3 separate regions of the Homo sapiens genome follow, and regions 2 and 3 are each linked to region 1. Evidence: promoter capture Hi-C in 16 types of primary human blood cells and fetal thymus (Javierre and others, 2016). All regions are on one chromosome and are shown on one strand. The core of a region is centred on a gene start or on the middle of the fragment in contact, and the rest is flanking DNA. Distances in the headings are between cores, read along the strand shown.

The links. Contacts are between HindIII fragments. The CHiCAGO score rates a contact against its expected background, and 5 or more counts as called.
Region 2: a fragment that was not itself captured here is called in contact with the fragment with the promoter of CWC15 in region 1 in 4 of 17 cell types (total CD8 T cells, neutrophils, fetal thymus and 1 more); the score reaches 6.0 in total CD8 T cells.
Region 3: a fragment that was not itself captured here is called in contact with the fragment with the promoter of CWC15 in region 1 in 1 of 17 cell types (megakaryocytes); the score reaches 7.0 in megakaryocytes.

Annotation. Positions count from the first base shown.
Region 1 is chr11:94,971,502-94,976,441 of GRCh38, reverse strand. It overlaps CWC15 (CWC15 spliceosome associated protein), which reads left to right and starts at 2,886. Exons shown (of 7, transcript NM_016403.4): 1 at 2,886-2,944; 2 at 4,249-4,387. The coding sequence starts at 4,257. KDM4D (lysine demethylase 4D) reads right to left here and starts at 2,733. Exons shown (of 3, transcript NM_018039.3): 1 at 2,374-2,733; 2 at 694-788. RefSeq lists enhancers at 2,480-2,629, 2,950-3,119, 2,834-3,609. The HindIII fragment of the contact is 9,854 bases long and covers 431-4,940 here.
Region 2 is chr11:94,495,104-94,500,043 of GRCh38, reverse strand. It overlaps ANKRD49 (ankyrin repeat domain 49), which reads right to left. Exons shown (of 3, transcript NM_017704.3): 2 at 3,093-3,440; 3 at 466-1,973. The coding sequence starts at 3,350. The coding sequence ends at 1,512. It also overlaps a transcript of MRE11 not described here. Among named protein-coding and RNA genes, the nearest start is that of ANKRD49, 3.6 kb to the right of the region's middle. The HindIII fragment of the contact is 1,925 bases long and covers 2,263-4,187 here.
Region 3 is chr11:94,613,715-94,618,654 of GRCh38, reverse strand. It overlaps PIWIL4 (piwi like RNA-mediated gene silencing 4), which reads right to left. Exons shown (of 20, transcript NM_152431.3): 16 at 2,092-2,162; 17 at 548-701. The region is part of intron 4 of PIWIL4-AS1 (PIWIL4 antisense RNA 1); the gene reads left to right. Among named protein-coding and RNA genes, the nearest start is that of LINC02700, 22 kb to the left of the region's middle. The HindIII fragment of the contact is 4,774 bases long and covers 343-4,940 here.

The DNA of each region.
Region 1 (4,940 bases), core at 1,637-4,136:
GGCAGCTCGATAGATCTGCGGAAAAAAGGAGATGAGAAGTCCTTGTTTAAGAGCTTCTGTTTTCTCAGAGAACTGAGAAGATCTACTGCCAGGAAAGAGAATGCAGAGGGAAAAGGAGGTGAAAGAGGCATGTAGACTTGAAGAAAGGGGAATGTGGGAAATTATATTATTGTAGAGGGGGAAAATAAACAATTAGGAGAGCATAAGAGGACTGGCAGGCAGAATTAAGGGCCAAACTAGATTTTGTGGTAACAGGTTTAACATAAGAATTCTTGGGAGGTTATATGATTTTTGCCAGCTAGGTTAACTGATCAGATGAATTTCAAGATTTTAGTAAACTTAAGTTTCTTTTTCTTAATACTTTCAAACCATTTAAGTCAAAAGCTTTAGTTTCATTTTCTTATTAGCACTTTCATTTAAGTCAAAAGCTTTTAATTTTGTGGATTGACTATATTGTATATTGGTGTTAATGAAATTATAGGGTGGCTATTTATCACCACTGGCAACCAAAAGATTAGGTTAGTGGGCTGGGAGTTAAATCAATGAAGTGATTCACTCCAGGCTAATGAGGACAGTTGGAACATAAAAACTGTGGGTATCTCCTATAATTGTGTTACCATCTTGCCATTGTTACGTCATTCCTCTACTTCATAGTGCATCATTCATTCATTCATTCATTCAACAAATACTTACTCAGCACCTATTATGTGCCAGGCACTGTTCTATATGCAGAGGATACACCCAGTGAACAAGAGAGACAAGGTTCCTGCTTTCCTGGAACTTATGTTCTAATATAGGAAGATAGACAATAATAATAAAAATAATATTAATAATAATAATAATAGCTAACATTTATTTAGCAAGTACTATTTGCTGAGACAGTTCTAAGCACTTTACAAGTATTAATTCACTTAATCCTTAGAGTAGTATTACAAGTTAGGGACTAGAATTACGCCCATTTTACACGTGAGGAAACTGAAAGCACAGAAAGGGAAAATGACTTGCCTAAGGTTATAGAGCTAGGAAAGGGCAGAACTGGAATTTAGAACAAAAATGGGCAGGCTGAAGATCCTTTTCTCTTAATGACCTTCGCATGCTGTCTCCTGAGAGACATGGAAATAAAAAATGAATAGAATAGACTCTGGTAATGTTTAGTGGTATGAAAAATGAAACAGGGTGATGTGATGGTGTACAAACACAAGTGTTGGAGGGGTGGGGGTAGGAAAACCTCACTGTGATACCTGAGACATGAAGGATGGTGATACAGTTACTTTGGGGCACAGGCAACAGAGAAAAGCTAGTGCAAAGGCCCTAAAATAGAAGGAATCTTGCCCTGTTTTATAAAACAGAAATGCCCACTTGGCTGTGTCTAGAGCTTAGTGCGTAAGCGAGTGACTGATTGGAAGTGAAGTCTGGAAGGTAGGCAGGAACCAGACTCCGTGGGGTCTCAGGTCACATTAAGAAATGTGATTTTTATTCTAAGTGCAGTGAAATTGTACACAGGATAGTAACACCATTTTATTAATTTTAAAAGATCACTCTCTTGGCTATATGCAACACTGACTGTAGGATAAAAGATGACGCAGGAAGATATAATAGGAAGCAATTACAATCCAGGTAGGAGATGGTGTTGGCAAAGGCAAGGGTAGTGGCAGTAGAATAAAATTGCGGGTGAGTTTTAAAAGTAGAATTGTTAAGACCTGTAAATGAACCGTATGTGAAGAGTGAATGAAAAGGAATTTAAGTAGGCACTCCGGGATTTTGGTTTGAGTAACTAGCATGATGATCGCGTCTTTTAGTGAGACTTGTTAAGACTGGAGGAGGGATACCTTCGGTAAGAAAAATCAGGATTTTCATCTTGAACTCTATGACTGAAAGGGCTTTTTCTGCTTTTCTTTCTTCATTAAAAAGTTGCAAAGAATTTAGGGGTAAGAAAGCATTTAAATATTCAATTTTGTGAGTTCCTTACATTTTAAACTAAGTTGGGGAAGTTGAATTTTCATTTGTTTAACAAATATTAATTGAGCAGCTACTATACGTCAAGGTCTATGTGATGAGATACCAAGATGAGCTAAACAACCAAGATCTCTATTCTCAGAATTTGTTTTTATGGAAGGGAGGAGAGACGACTGGTAGGTTTTTGGTTTTCGGGTTTTCTACTTTTCGTTGTCTTATTAAAACTTAACACTTAAGTAGCCATCTTAATAATTACATCTTGTGCTCCTGGTAGTTGGGCCCACCATTGTAAACGCTCTCGTAAATACTGACATCTCCCCTCCCACTAAAACTAACGTTTTTTAAATAAGAAATTTTAGCAAACATTACGAATACAACCTTTGCTTTGAAGTGTTAATATTTTTGCAGGAATGGTACCTTTGTAAAGATCGTGGTTGCCCCGTACATATTTGTTCTTTCTTCATATCCAATTAAATGAAAACACTAGTTTTTCCGAAGCCCAACTCTCTAGGTTTGTTGGTTCTAGCTCAGGAGAAAGGATGGAAGCAGGAGTCGTTGGATTTAAACAGTTTGGTGTAATCCTTTTCCACGCTCTCTCCCGCTAGCCGGGGACGTGGTGTCGGCTACCCGGGGCTTTCCGTCCACGCAGTACCGGAATGAAGGAGTCTGGGAGGGGGTCGGGGACGGAAAAGACGGAAGAGACATTAAGTAATTGGTTCTTGAAGGTATAAAATGAGGTTTAGGGTCTACTCTAAGGCACTGATTTCAAACGCCCGCCCCCTGGGCCGCTTCGGCCCCGCCCCTTAGTGCCGTTACGCCGACTTCCACTTCGGCCACTGCGGATTGGTCGTTGCTTCCGCCCCCGAAGCGCTTGGATTTTGCTTCCGGGTCGTAGGCGCTAGCTCTGGGCGCAGAGGTTTCTGGGAGCCAAGAGTGGTAATGGCGTCTGTATGATCTTCGGAGCCTGCTGCATCGGACCTCGGCCAGTGTGAGCGGCAAGAGGATAGGAGATTATCTTTCTTATCGCGATGGGACGGGAAAGGGCAGTTGGGGTCGGAGTCGGCGGCAGAGTGCAGAGCGCGGGCGGTGGAGGCCCTGGAGCAGCGGGCTAGGGGCGGAACCGAGTGCCTGTCAGGCGCGTCTGGAGCTCTTGGGCCCGCCGAGGAGATCGCAGCGTACAGGCAGCTCGCCTACTGCGTAAAGCGAACCCCAGGTCCTCCCTTCACTACCCTTCGCACCCCTGCAGTGCTGGGCACGGGTGAAGAGGCAGCGAGTTTCTGGTTATAGCCAAAGACTAGCTCACGGGAGGCCGGAGTGATAATTCCGTGGGTGTGTGGGAAGGGGCGGCGCCCCCAGCGCCAGATAACCCTGTTTTCTTCTTTGTATACATGTCTCTACCCTTTTTGAAAGTTGAGAGAATTAGCATCGCCCCCCCCCCAAAAAATCCTCCCAATTCGCCCACCCTCCCCACACACTTGCTTTTCCGACACTAACAGGGTTTTAGTGACTGCATCTGCTGCACAGTATTCTTGTGACTGCTCCAAGCAGAAAGTAACTTGAGGAATGAGTCCCTGATTTTTGGCATCAGAATCCTCTGGGGGTGAGGTTCCTGTTTTTTTTGAACAGGCCTTAAATTATAACCCACAAACGATCTAATTTATAGTATGATGCCTGTTGTAGGAGAAAATTGGCTCAACAAACGGTTGTTTAAGAATTTTTTTCTGTGTAACTGTCATTGAAGTTTAACACACTTTTCTCTGGGACATTTAGTAACTTTGTCAGTGATATTTTTTGTTTGTTTTTAGCTTTTGTTTCTACTAGCCTATTTGCTATTGTGTGAAGTTTAGATAAAATGCAAACCTTACAGAGTCTGGTAGAGTAAGGTTGAGTTGGAAATTTTTAAAACTCAGTCATGGCAGTACTGTATTTTACTAGGGTTTTGACATGTCAAGTGTCATAATTCTTATAATCTATGAGGAATATCTCCATTCCACAGATGACAAAGTTAAGCCAGGTGACTTGCTCAAGCCCATATAGTCAGAAGGAGAATAGGGATGCAAACTCAGATCTTCATGACAGAATTTTTTGTACTAAGGCAAGCCTGAGAAGCCATATTCCTTGTACAGCCTAAGCCTCATAATTTGTTTTCTTGAAAACTTTTGTTTAAGAAGATTAAGCAGGTTTTGGGGAATGAGTTTTAGAACTTATTTTACCAGTATGGATATTGATTAATACTCTATAAAATGAGTGTTTGTAATGTTGGAAATAACTTGATTATATTTTTCTTCAAAGCATAAAAGATGACAACAGCAGCCAGGCCAACCTTTGAACCTGCCAGAGGTGGAAGGGGAAAAGGAGAAGGTGATTTGAGCCAACTTTCAAAGCAGTATTCAAGCAGAGACCTACCCTCTCATACAAAGATAAAATACAGGTAGTAAGACTTTCTTTTTTTATTGTTCACAAAACAAGACCAGATCTGTTAAATGGCATGGTCATGATATAGTAGTATGTTTGAGTTATGTCACTTATCTATTTTCATAGGAATAGAATGCAATAGGATGTTTAACACTAAAATTCTGCTGTGATTTTAAAATGTGAAATTCCTACTAACCAGGAATTTTCATATGTAGATAGAACAATAAATAATAGAAATAATAATGCCTCAGAGTATGCACTATGAGCACCAGTCAGTATATTAAAAGTATTACTGTTAAGTTCTGAGTTGATATAATCCTAATAAAAATTAAAGACATTTTAATCACTGTAAAGCCTTATTATAGGAAAATATGTGATTGAATTTGGACTTCTTGAAATATTGGGAACATCACAAGAGTGGCTGTTAGTAACCTTCAGATTAAATTATGATCTTGTCTACTTCCCTTTTTTCTGCTTGAAGGACAAAGTCTCATTCCTGAATTGTCTTCCATTACTACAGTCTCTGTGTGTGTGTGTGTGTGTGTTTAAGTAACATTTTTGCCCTGGTT
Region 2 (4,940 bases), core at 1,976-4,475, 480 kb after region 1:
CCACAAAGCATCTCCCTAGGAAGAGATCACAACATAAACTAAAGCACTAACTCTCAAGATCCTGTTGTCACGATGATTCAGTTCATATATTATCTCTGACTTTTCTGAGATGATCTAATAAGTTCTAAGCAAAAATAAATATTTAATCTTTGATTAAATAACATTATTACTTAGTCTAGGGTGACTGGGTTACGTAGGATGGCTTGAAAGAGATAAGCCTTGGTGGACATCTTAAAAATTTAACTGAAGTAAAGAGCAACTGGTTTAGTTCCCTTCCCCTGGAGTGTTGTGGTGTTGAGAAGACAAAACTTTGGGAACAATCACAGGGGGGCTAGATAGACAATGCAAAATTGCTGCTGGAGAGACTGAGTGAGTAGATGTTAAATAACTAAGTGCGTGCTGGATGAATAATGTTCTGGATCCAAGAAAGACATACACAGGTAAAAAATGAATTCATGCCTTTTGTGTTGTTCAAAACTTGTACTTTATTTTTCTCAAATATTTTTACTTATGCTTTTTGTCATTATCCACAGTGTTTTTTTTTTAAAGCCTGAGCCACTTTGTGGTTTTAGCCTCAATATAATAATCATCCCCTTACTCTTAGACTAATTCCTTTTCCCCTGTCACTTTGCCTGTATACTCTGTAAAAATGAGGACCTTAGAAAATCAACATTTCCTGTGAACTTGAGAGACTATACAAGCAGTGCCCAAATCAGTAGGATTAGGCAGGTAAAACCAGTTGGATAGCAGATATATTATGATCTGTTGGACAAAGGTATAGTTGTGTGCATGTCTACAAGGTCATCGTGATTCGCCATTAGCTTAAGGATCATGTAGGTTGACCAGGGTGAGGTAGGACTATCCACAGGATTGTGTAAATTGTGGTAGGGGATGCAGTATACAATATTCATGAATTAAACACTTAGCTAACTGCTTTCCTGAAAATGGTCTGTGTTCTAAAAGACAAAGATCTAGGTTTTTTGCTGTTTTTTACTTTAACTTATGAAGATTCAAGTCACTAATATGTTACTTGCTCTGGTTTAAAATGAAAGCAACTGGCTATGGTAAGGTAGAGAAGACAGCTGAATTGTATCAGAATATTTAAGACTTTTAAATTAAGTTCTGAGTTACCTCACCTTATAAAAATATATGTCAATATACTAAATACCCAACAAAGATCCAGGATGTGGGATATTTAAAAATACATTTCTCTTGTATCAGCACCAAAAATACCAGTTTCTGTACAACCCGTGTCAAGTTTTTAAGTATACACACATTAAAATTATTTCTGATAAAAAAATCACAAACTCCACAGAAATAATTAAAGATATATGCAAATTACTTTCAAATACATTTTGACATCAAAGTCAGGCAATTCACTTGGAAGAATGTTATAATGAATGTCACTGAATTTTTGTAGTAAGATGTTTGACGTCAACTTTGATTATGGGAATACATCTCACACACAGGAGGCACTGGTATTTAGAAACTTAGGAAAATTACTAGAATTGTTAAGACTGAGGTGAAGAATTTGTACAGCCTTCCACAATTTCAAAGAGGTAGTGATAGATACTTGTCCTCCTGGCAATATCAAATGCAGTTTCTTCCAAGTTGTTTTTCAGCCCTGGTTTGACGTAACGGTTCATCAGGAGGAGTTCTAGGGTATCCTTGCTGTCTCTGTTCCCAGCAGCAAGATGCAAGGGGGTCAAGAGGCCTTTTGTTTGGGCATTGATATCTGCATCATGCTGCAGTAAGAAAGAAGCCACTCTGGTATTATTCCACTTACAAGCACTGTGCAGGGGCGTCCAGCCATCCACAGTCACTGCATGAACATCGGCCCCCTGTGCAATGAGCTCCTGAACAATATCTAAGTGTCCACTGTAGGCTGCTCGATGAAGAGGGGTATACTCATCTTCATCCCTAGTGTTCACGTGAGTGGCCTTTTCAGAAAGGAGTCTCCGCACTGTGGTAAGCTGAGAAGAAAAAAAAGAAATCTTTCAACTCAACTCAAACCAAAACAATAACTAAAACAAAATTGTCTTGTGGTGTTAGATTTAATTAAGTTGAATAAAAACTTACTTGTTAGTAGATGACTTTAAAATGAAAATAATTTAAGATCTCTTTTTGGGGAGGAGAGGACTACTGATTTAAGAATGAACAAGTTAGTGTTAACTACACTTTGTTGCTTCTAAGAATGAGATTCTCTGAATATCAAACCATACATTTACTCCTGGTCCAACTAAGGTTTATTGCATAAAAGCTTCAGTCCAATGAATAACATAGGCTTTCTGTTTAATATTTTATGTGTTATCTGTGAAGAAAACATAACTGCTTGATTTTTCTGTAGGATTATCACACCAATATACACACTGTATGAAACTTTTAAAAATAAAACTTTTAACAGAAGAATAAAGTATTAATAAGGAATTCTAGGGATTCAAGAGCTCAATTCCTTCTCAATACAACCTTAGAAACAACCTTTTAGGTTGTAATTTTCAGTTTGTTCTATGGGCCTCTGGTTAAATGTGGCATGCTCTTGGGTTAAAAAGCTATTTAAAATGCGAGACCCTTTTAGTTATTAGTTTACTAACACAGACATGGGGAAACTTAGTAAAATGAGGTGGAAGTGGCCAAGCAGAGGGAATAGGCTTTTGATGTTCATTCCACTTCGATGATCCTGGGCAAATTAATATTCCTGAATCTCAATTTCTTACTCTATAAAAGAGAAGAATATTACTTATAGGGATACATGATGATTAAATAAAATAATGTAATAAGGTACCTGGTATAGTTAGTTTTTAATAAATGTTAGTTTCCATCCTCTCTTTCCTAAATGATCCTAATGACTTTATATAAATGATTTTAAAATATAGATGATTGCTTGCTATCTTTATAGATAATTATCCTTAAACCCCCAAATAATACCTAGCATGACACTTTGCAGCTTAATATGTGCTTTCATGTACATTGTCTCATTTGGTCCTCACAATCAAGAGATAGGTATGATGGCCATAACAGTAAAGGCAGGTCTTCTGGCTTGAACCCAGTGCTTTTCCTACTGTCACACTTCCCTCTGTAATTTTTTTTTTTACCCGATTTTTTTCAGCAGCCCAAAGAAGCAATCTGCTTGGGTCTTTTTCCATTTTTTTTTCTTGCAATCGATACCACTCTTCATTTTTGTCATCTTGCTCCTCATCTTCATCAGAATTGCCTACCCAAAGACTTTGAGTACCAGTAGGAATAAGGTGTCCATGTGTTTCCAACAATTCAAGTTGGTTAAAGTGTTCAGAAAAATCCAAGGAATTCTCTTGGTCTGGTATTCCATCATCATTTCCTTTTTCTTTTTCCATTTTTTACTACTATTCTAAATAAAAAGCATTTCAAATGCCAGGATATAAATCTTTCTAGAGATGAATTATGACTGCTTTGTTCATCAAGATCTGAAAACACAAATACAAAAGTTATTAGTAAAACAATAATTCAGGCTTTATCAACTGCATAGATAAGTCTTGCAAACATATACAATTAAACCCTGTCTAAACTCTTGTTTTTCTCATGATATCCCTTACATACACTAAATACTGATGCTGACAGAAAACAACAAACTATGATCTAATAGTGGTCTAATGCTTCTTACTTTTGTTGTTTTCTTCTAAGTCAATTATATTATTATAACTATTATTTTTAATCTACTGGTTTAGGTATGATGGTGTTATGCTAACAGTGATGAATGCTTAAAGGTTTTGAAGTATAACTAATACAATGAAGACAGGTGCATTCAAGATTTTTATAAACTAGACACACAGATAATATAGAGCAGAAATAAAAACTTCTAATTCCTAAAAATACTATTTCGAAGAATCAGGGATTCTTGAAGATGGAATAGCCCCCAAAAGGACATCTGTTCCAATCTGTCATCGGTACATATATCTTTATCACAGCATCTACACTAATTATCCTATTTCTACTTTGATAATTTCAGGCCTAGGAAAATTCACTGCTTTAAAAAGTAGTCCTGTTTATTGATAGGCAACTATAGTTCTTAGTTGGGTCCTTGTTTTCAACTGAATTTTGGCTGTCATTCATTCCTTCATTCAACTAATATGAATAGAATGTCTGGTATGTGCCAACTTCTGGGTACTGGGATTCAATAATGAGCAAGATCCATGTCTTCACCTCAGGAAGCTTACTCTAGTGTAGGTGACTGGCAAAGACATCATGTGTCTGGCAAAGACAACATGATAAGTACTACTACAAGACCTTGTCTAGAAACCATGAGTATACAGGAGGTTCATAATTCCCCTAGTCCTAAGGGATTAAAGAAGGCTTCCTGAAGGAACTGATGTTTATTCTGCTAAGCTGCCATATTAATTTTTAAACCAATATCAGCTTAAAGGGTTACACAACATATAAACCTTAATCAATTAAAGAAAAGGAGAATAACCAATAGATAATTTACAAATACGAATTCCCAGCCTCTCAACTCTATTTGTTGAAATATAATCAGTCTTTCAAGGCTCTTCTCTGATGTTATCTCTTTCATTCTTTCTTGATCCTCTCATTTAGATCGCTTTCTGCTTTCTACTTTTTTTGGTGCTACATTTCACCTCTAACTTTGTTCTTGTTTTAGCCCCTTAAAAGATTATAAGCTGAAAGATAAGGACCACATTTAACTTATATTTATCTCCTACTTGTCTATAGAAGGCATTAAGAAGTATGTGTAGCATTACATTTAATTAAAGTCTTGTCACTTGATTTTGCCTGGAATGGATTCTGAGAAGTTCCAGAGTTAGGCATAACCCCAAGATACTGATTTCTTGATACCTAATCTCACAAGTTTAACAGTATACAATCTTAATGTGGTATTAAACTTTATTACTAGTGGCAATAGCACTAAACTCAAGTTTAAATGTATTACTCATGTCCAGTAACTTTTCTGG
Region 3 (4,940 bases), core at 1,480-3,979, 360 kb after region 1:
GCAGAAAATTTTGTACTGAAACACAGACAACAGTGGAGCAAGAAGCCTGGTGTTCAGGATGGTCTGATTTCCATCTGCAGCTCAGCTTTCATGGCACTCAAACCCTTTGAGAACCTTCCATAGACCTTAAGTGCACATCAGTGCCTGCAACTCAGAGGCTTTGGTTCTGTGTGTATTAGGGCCTTGAATTTGAAATCACGGTTTGTTTTCTTCCATGTGATATTAATATGTATGAAGTATTTTCACTGCCAGCAGCCCTGCAGGCTTCATGCTGAATCTGTGTCAGCTGCTCTGAGGGTACCTTTCTTTGTCTAGGTTTCCCCTCCCAGGGCCCCCAAAGCTTATACCACCCAAGCTATTTATGTTAGACCATCCCAACTACCCTCCAATCTGAAGGAAATGATAGAGCTCTACTGGCATGATACAGAAACACAGCAAAACTTAATTGCATAAAAAACAAAACTTATGCTTGAATACCTTGTGTGTAATAGCTACAGCTGAATATGCTATAATTGGGAGTATGGAGGAAAGAACAATAATTGAATACCTGGTATTTGAGCTGGATTCTGCCACACTGCTCAGCAGCTGTGGGACTTCATATTCAATAAGTGTTTTCAGCTGACCATCCCCTACACCAGCACGGTACACAATTATCCGTGCTGGCAAATCATGATTGTACTTGTACCATTTGTTGAGTGCTCCTGCAGAATTTGGTGTCAGTAAGAAAAGAATTACTTTTCTAATGCCAACAAAAAATAACATTCCCATATATTGCAGTGTTTAAATGGGTTTGCTATTTCAGACCACTGTAAAATAGGGCAATACATAATTTGGGTTATATTTGCAAGAATATAACAATGGATAACTTTAGGGAGCATTCCTCTGTCTCTGCTATTCAAGGAATCACAATGGTTTCTATGGCATGATATATTCTTAAACTTGGCCTATCTCTTTAAATAAAATTTTAATATTTAAGCAATAAATTAAAAATTAATGCAATAGACAAATGCCTAAAATCAAATATTAGTGTCTTCAAGTCTTTAAATCCTCTAATTAGATATAAACTAATTTTATGTCATTTTCCTTCCTAATGAGAATAAATATGAAAATCTAAGGAAATGGCTTTGCTGTTCCTCTGAAAACATATCTTCACACTGACTCACCCAATTGATTCCAATTCTCACTGAGGGAATGAACTCTGAAAACATTTCTACTCACTGTAACTATGAATTTCCTAAAGAACAGGGACCATAGAGTAACTGCTACCCAACGAAAACCTTTAATAACTGCTAAAAAAAAAATTACCTGCTAAAAAAATTTACCAGGTTTCGATGTGAGGGGAATATAATAGAATGCAATAATTATTTTCATGTATATATTGCATAGTTATTTTAAGAGTTTATTGTTTAGGAAATTCATTTTAGTTTGATAGAAGGTAATCATATATATAAGTCCATTACCAACATGTATAAGCAAATTCATTTTTTAAGAAAAAATATTTACAATACTCCCAAATTTACAGATGGGAAAATGCAGATCAGGAGAGGGAAGGGTTTGTACAAGTCACACTGCTAGGAAATAGCAAAGCCAGACCTAGGCCAGGAGTGGTGAAGAAACAGAAACCTTAGATTTGTCTTTGCATTGCATCCTGCTATGGATAGGGCACCTTTCCTCATCTGCTGTCTTTCCCTTCTTCTCTTGCTTTGCCACTTTATCTGTTAGCACCCCTATCCTAGCCCTATAGGCTTCCCTCCTAGGTCTACACTTAACATTGCTCTGTCATAACTCGAGTTCCTCCAGGGTTGGTTTCTTTTGACCTTCAAACTGCTTGTCAGGGAAACCAGCAGCCACAAATTTTCCTTCCTTCTGGCTTCATGTTATCACACACAGACAAATGTAAATGTAAATGCTACATAGTCTGATTGTTGGCCTAAATCGGCATGCAGCTTCAGAGATCTTCAACTGGGTGACAGTTGACAAAGACAGGTGTAGAGAGTTTGCTCTGACCTATGTGGTCTTCTATAAGCATGTGGATTTGAGGTCTGAAGGAACAGTCCTTGGAGCCCACCCACATTGCTATATTTTTAGTACCAGTCATGAAAACTTTCAAGCAATCTGCAACATCAGTCATTGTTCTCTGAAGGATACAGCGGGAAAACCACCTAAAGTTAAAAAAAAAAATAAAAGTAAAATTCAACTTCAATTTTTCTACCATAAATATTCATTAATATTAAATTAAGAAACAGAGATTATGAGTAAAAATCAATGTTCGCAATTTTGTATGTGTTATGTGTTCACAATTATATCAAAGAGACCCTTTACCCAAAAAGAATTTATTGAGAACAGAAGCTAAACATAGTGTTGGCATCAGCCATATCGAGCTTCAAATCCTAGTCAATATACTCACCAGCTGTGTAACTTTGCTATGTGAACCTAAGTCTCAGTTTCCTCATCTGTACCAAGGAGATTTACAAGGTAAGTAGATTAGTTACTACCTCATAGGGTTGTGGTAAAAATTAAATCACATGATATTTGTAAAATATTTAGCATAGTACTTTGCATATAGTAAAGAGTAATAGAGGCCACTATTATTGTTATAAATTAATGTACTAATTTAGCAATAGAGCTTCTACTGTCAAAATATTCAAAGATTTCTGAAGCATAAACTTTCATTTCTATAGGTGATCCTTTTGGATTAGAAATCTTAACATTATTGTGTAGATTTCAGAAACAAGTTCTCTTACTACCACCATTAATTAACTTAAAGCACTTGGAAATGAAGATCATGACTTTGTGTTAGGTATGTTCCAGCATTATTATACCTCTCTAAATATATGCAACAACAGTAATACAGCTACATGTGGTGGCGCGTGCCTATAGTCACAGCTACTTGGGAGGCTGAGGTAGGAGGACTGCTTGAGCCCATGAGTTCAAGGCTGTATTGTGCTATCACTGTGCCTGTGAATAGCCACTGCACTCCAGCCTGGGCAACAAAGCAAGACCCCATCTCTAAACATTTTGTTTTTTTGTAAAAAACAACAACAAAACAAAAAAAACAGAACACAATTAGGAATGCTGCCAACAAACTAGAAGTCCTGAGTGATATTAGCAAGGTGGAAGAATAGGAGCTTTCTACCATCATTTCCCTTCCAGAAGCATCAATTTTGACAATTACCCATGGATGAGACTAACTCCAATGGTGACGTTCCAGCACATCACTGGAGTAAAACATCAGAGAATGGATGCATTAAAGAGGGTAACACAAAGAGATTCACTTTACCTGCATTGCTCCTCCCCTACGGAGGGCACAGCTCAGTGCCATGACAGATCACATCAGCCCATGATTTCTCTTACAGGGTGAAAATTAGAGTGTAGTGAGTGAGTACCCAGCTCCCTCACCCATTCAGGATACTGCCTAGGATGCCCACTTTTTTCTTGCCTCAACCAGAACAACAAGATTATCAGCACAGCTGGGAGGTTAGGAGAGTCTGGGGGCAGGAAAGAGTGGCTGCAAACCCTACTGACTGCTCTATGAGCTTCATCAAGAGGCCCTCCTGTGGGTTTCTTAGGATACCTTGCCTATGGAGCACCTCAACTGACTCACAGGCACCCCAAATGCTACATGTATCTCACCACCACCCCTGACCAGGCTGGCTCCCCAACCACATTTGTTCAGATGTTGAGTGCAAGCATTTCACACAAACAGATAGCTTGACTCTTCAGGATTTGGAGAAGGTACACAAAATGAGCATTTCAGGGCACCACCCTAGGGAAAACAGATGAGAGCCTCTTGACAGCTGGCCTGGCTTTGTGGGATTGAGAAAGTGCATGCAATTTTAAGGATCCCCCCACCAAGTGAGAACCAGAAGTGTGGAGTGGGCACATGAATAGAAAACGTGTAAGAGAGCCTCAGAATCCCTAGCTGGGCTGACTGTTAAAGGTTTTTCTCTCCCAAAGATAGCCAATAAAGACTGGAAGAAATGACTGATTCTTCAAATGCAAAGACAGCAATGCAAAACTTCAAGAAACATGAAAAATCAGGAACTGACCGGGTGCAGTGGTTCATGCCTGTAACCCCAGCACTTTTAGAGGCCGAGGAGGGAGGATCACCTGAAGTCAGGAGTTCAAGACCAGCCTGCCCAACATGGTGAAACCCTGACTCTACTAAAAATACACAAAATTAGCTGGGCATGGTGGCAGGCACCTGTAATGCCAGCTACTAGGGAGGCTGAGGCAGGAGAATCAGTTGAACCTGGGAGGCAGAGGTTTCAGTGAGCTGAGATCGCACCACCACACTCCAGCCTGCGTGACAAGAGCGAAACTCTATCTCAAAAAGGAAAAAAAAAAAAAAAAAGAAAAGAAAAATCAGGAACTATGACACAACCAAGGGAACACAATAATATTCCAGTAATTGACCTCAAAGAAATGGAGATTTGTGAATTGCCTGAGAAAGGATTCAAAATAATTGTTTAAGGAAGCTCAGCAAGCTACAAGGGAATGCAGACAGACCACTCAATGACATTAAAAAAAAAATACAGAAACAAAACAATAACTTCAATATAGAGATAGAAACAATTAAAAAAGAACCAAGCAAGCTGGGCCTGGTGGTTCACACCTATAATCCCAGCACTTTGGGAGGCTGAGGCAGGTGGATCAGGAGGTTAGGAGTTTGAGACTAGCCTGACCAACACAGTGAAACCCCCTCTCTACTAAAAATAAAAAAAATTAGCTGGACATTGTGGCAGGTGCCTATAATCTCAGCTACTTGGGAGGCTGAGGCAGGAGAATCACTTGAACCCAGGAGGCGGAGGTTGCAGAGAGCCAAGATTGTGCCACTGCACTCCAGCCCTGGGTGAGTGTGAGACTCCATCTCAAAGAACCAAGCAGAAATTCTGGAGCTGAAGAATACAATTAAATAAAAGCAATAGAAAATATCAATA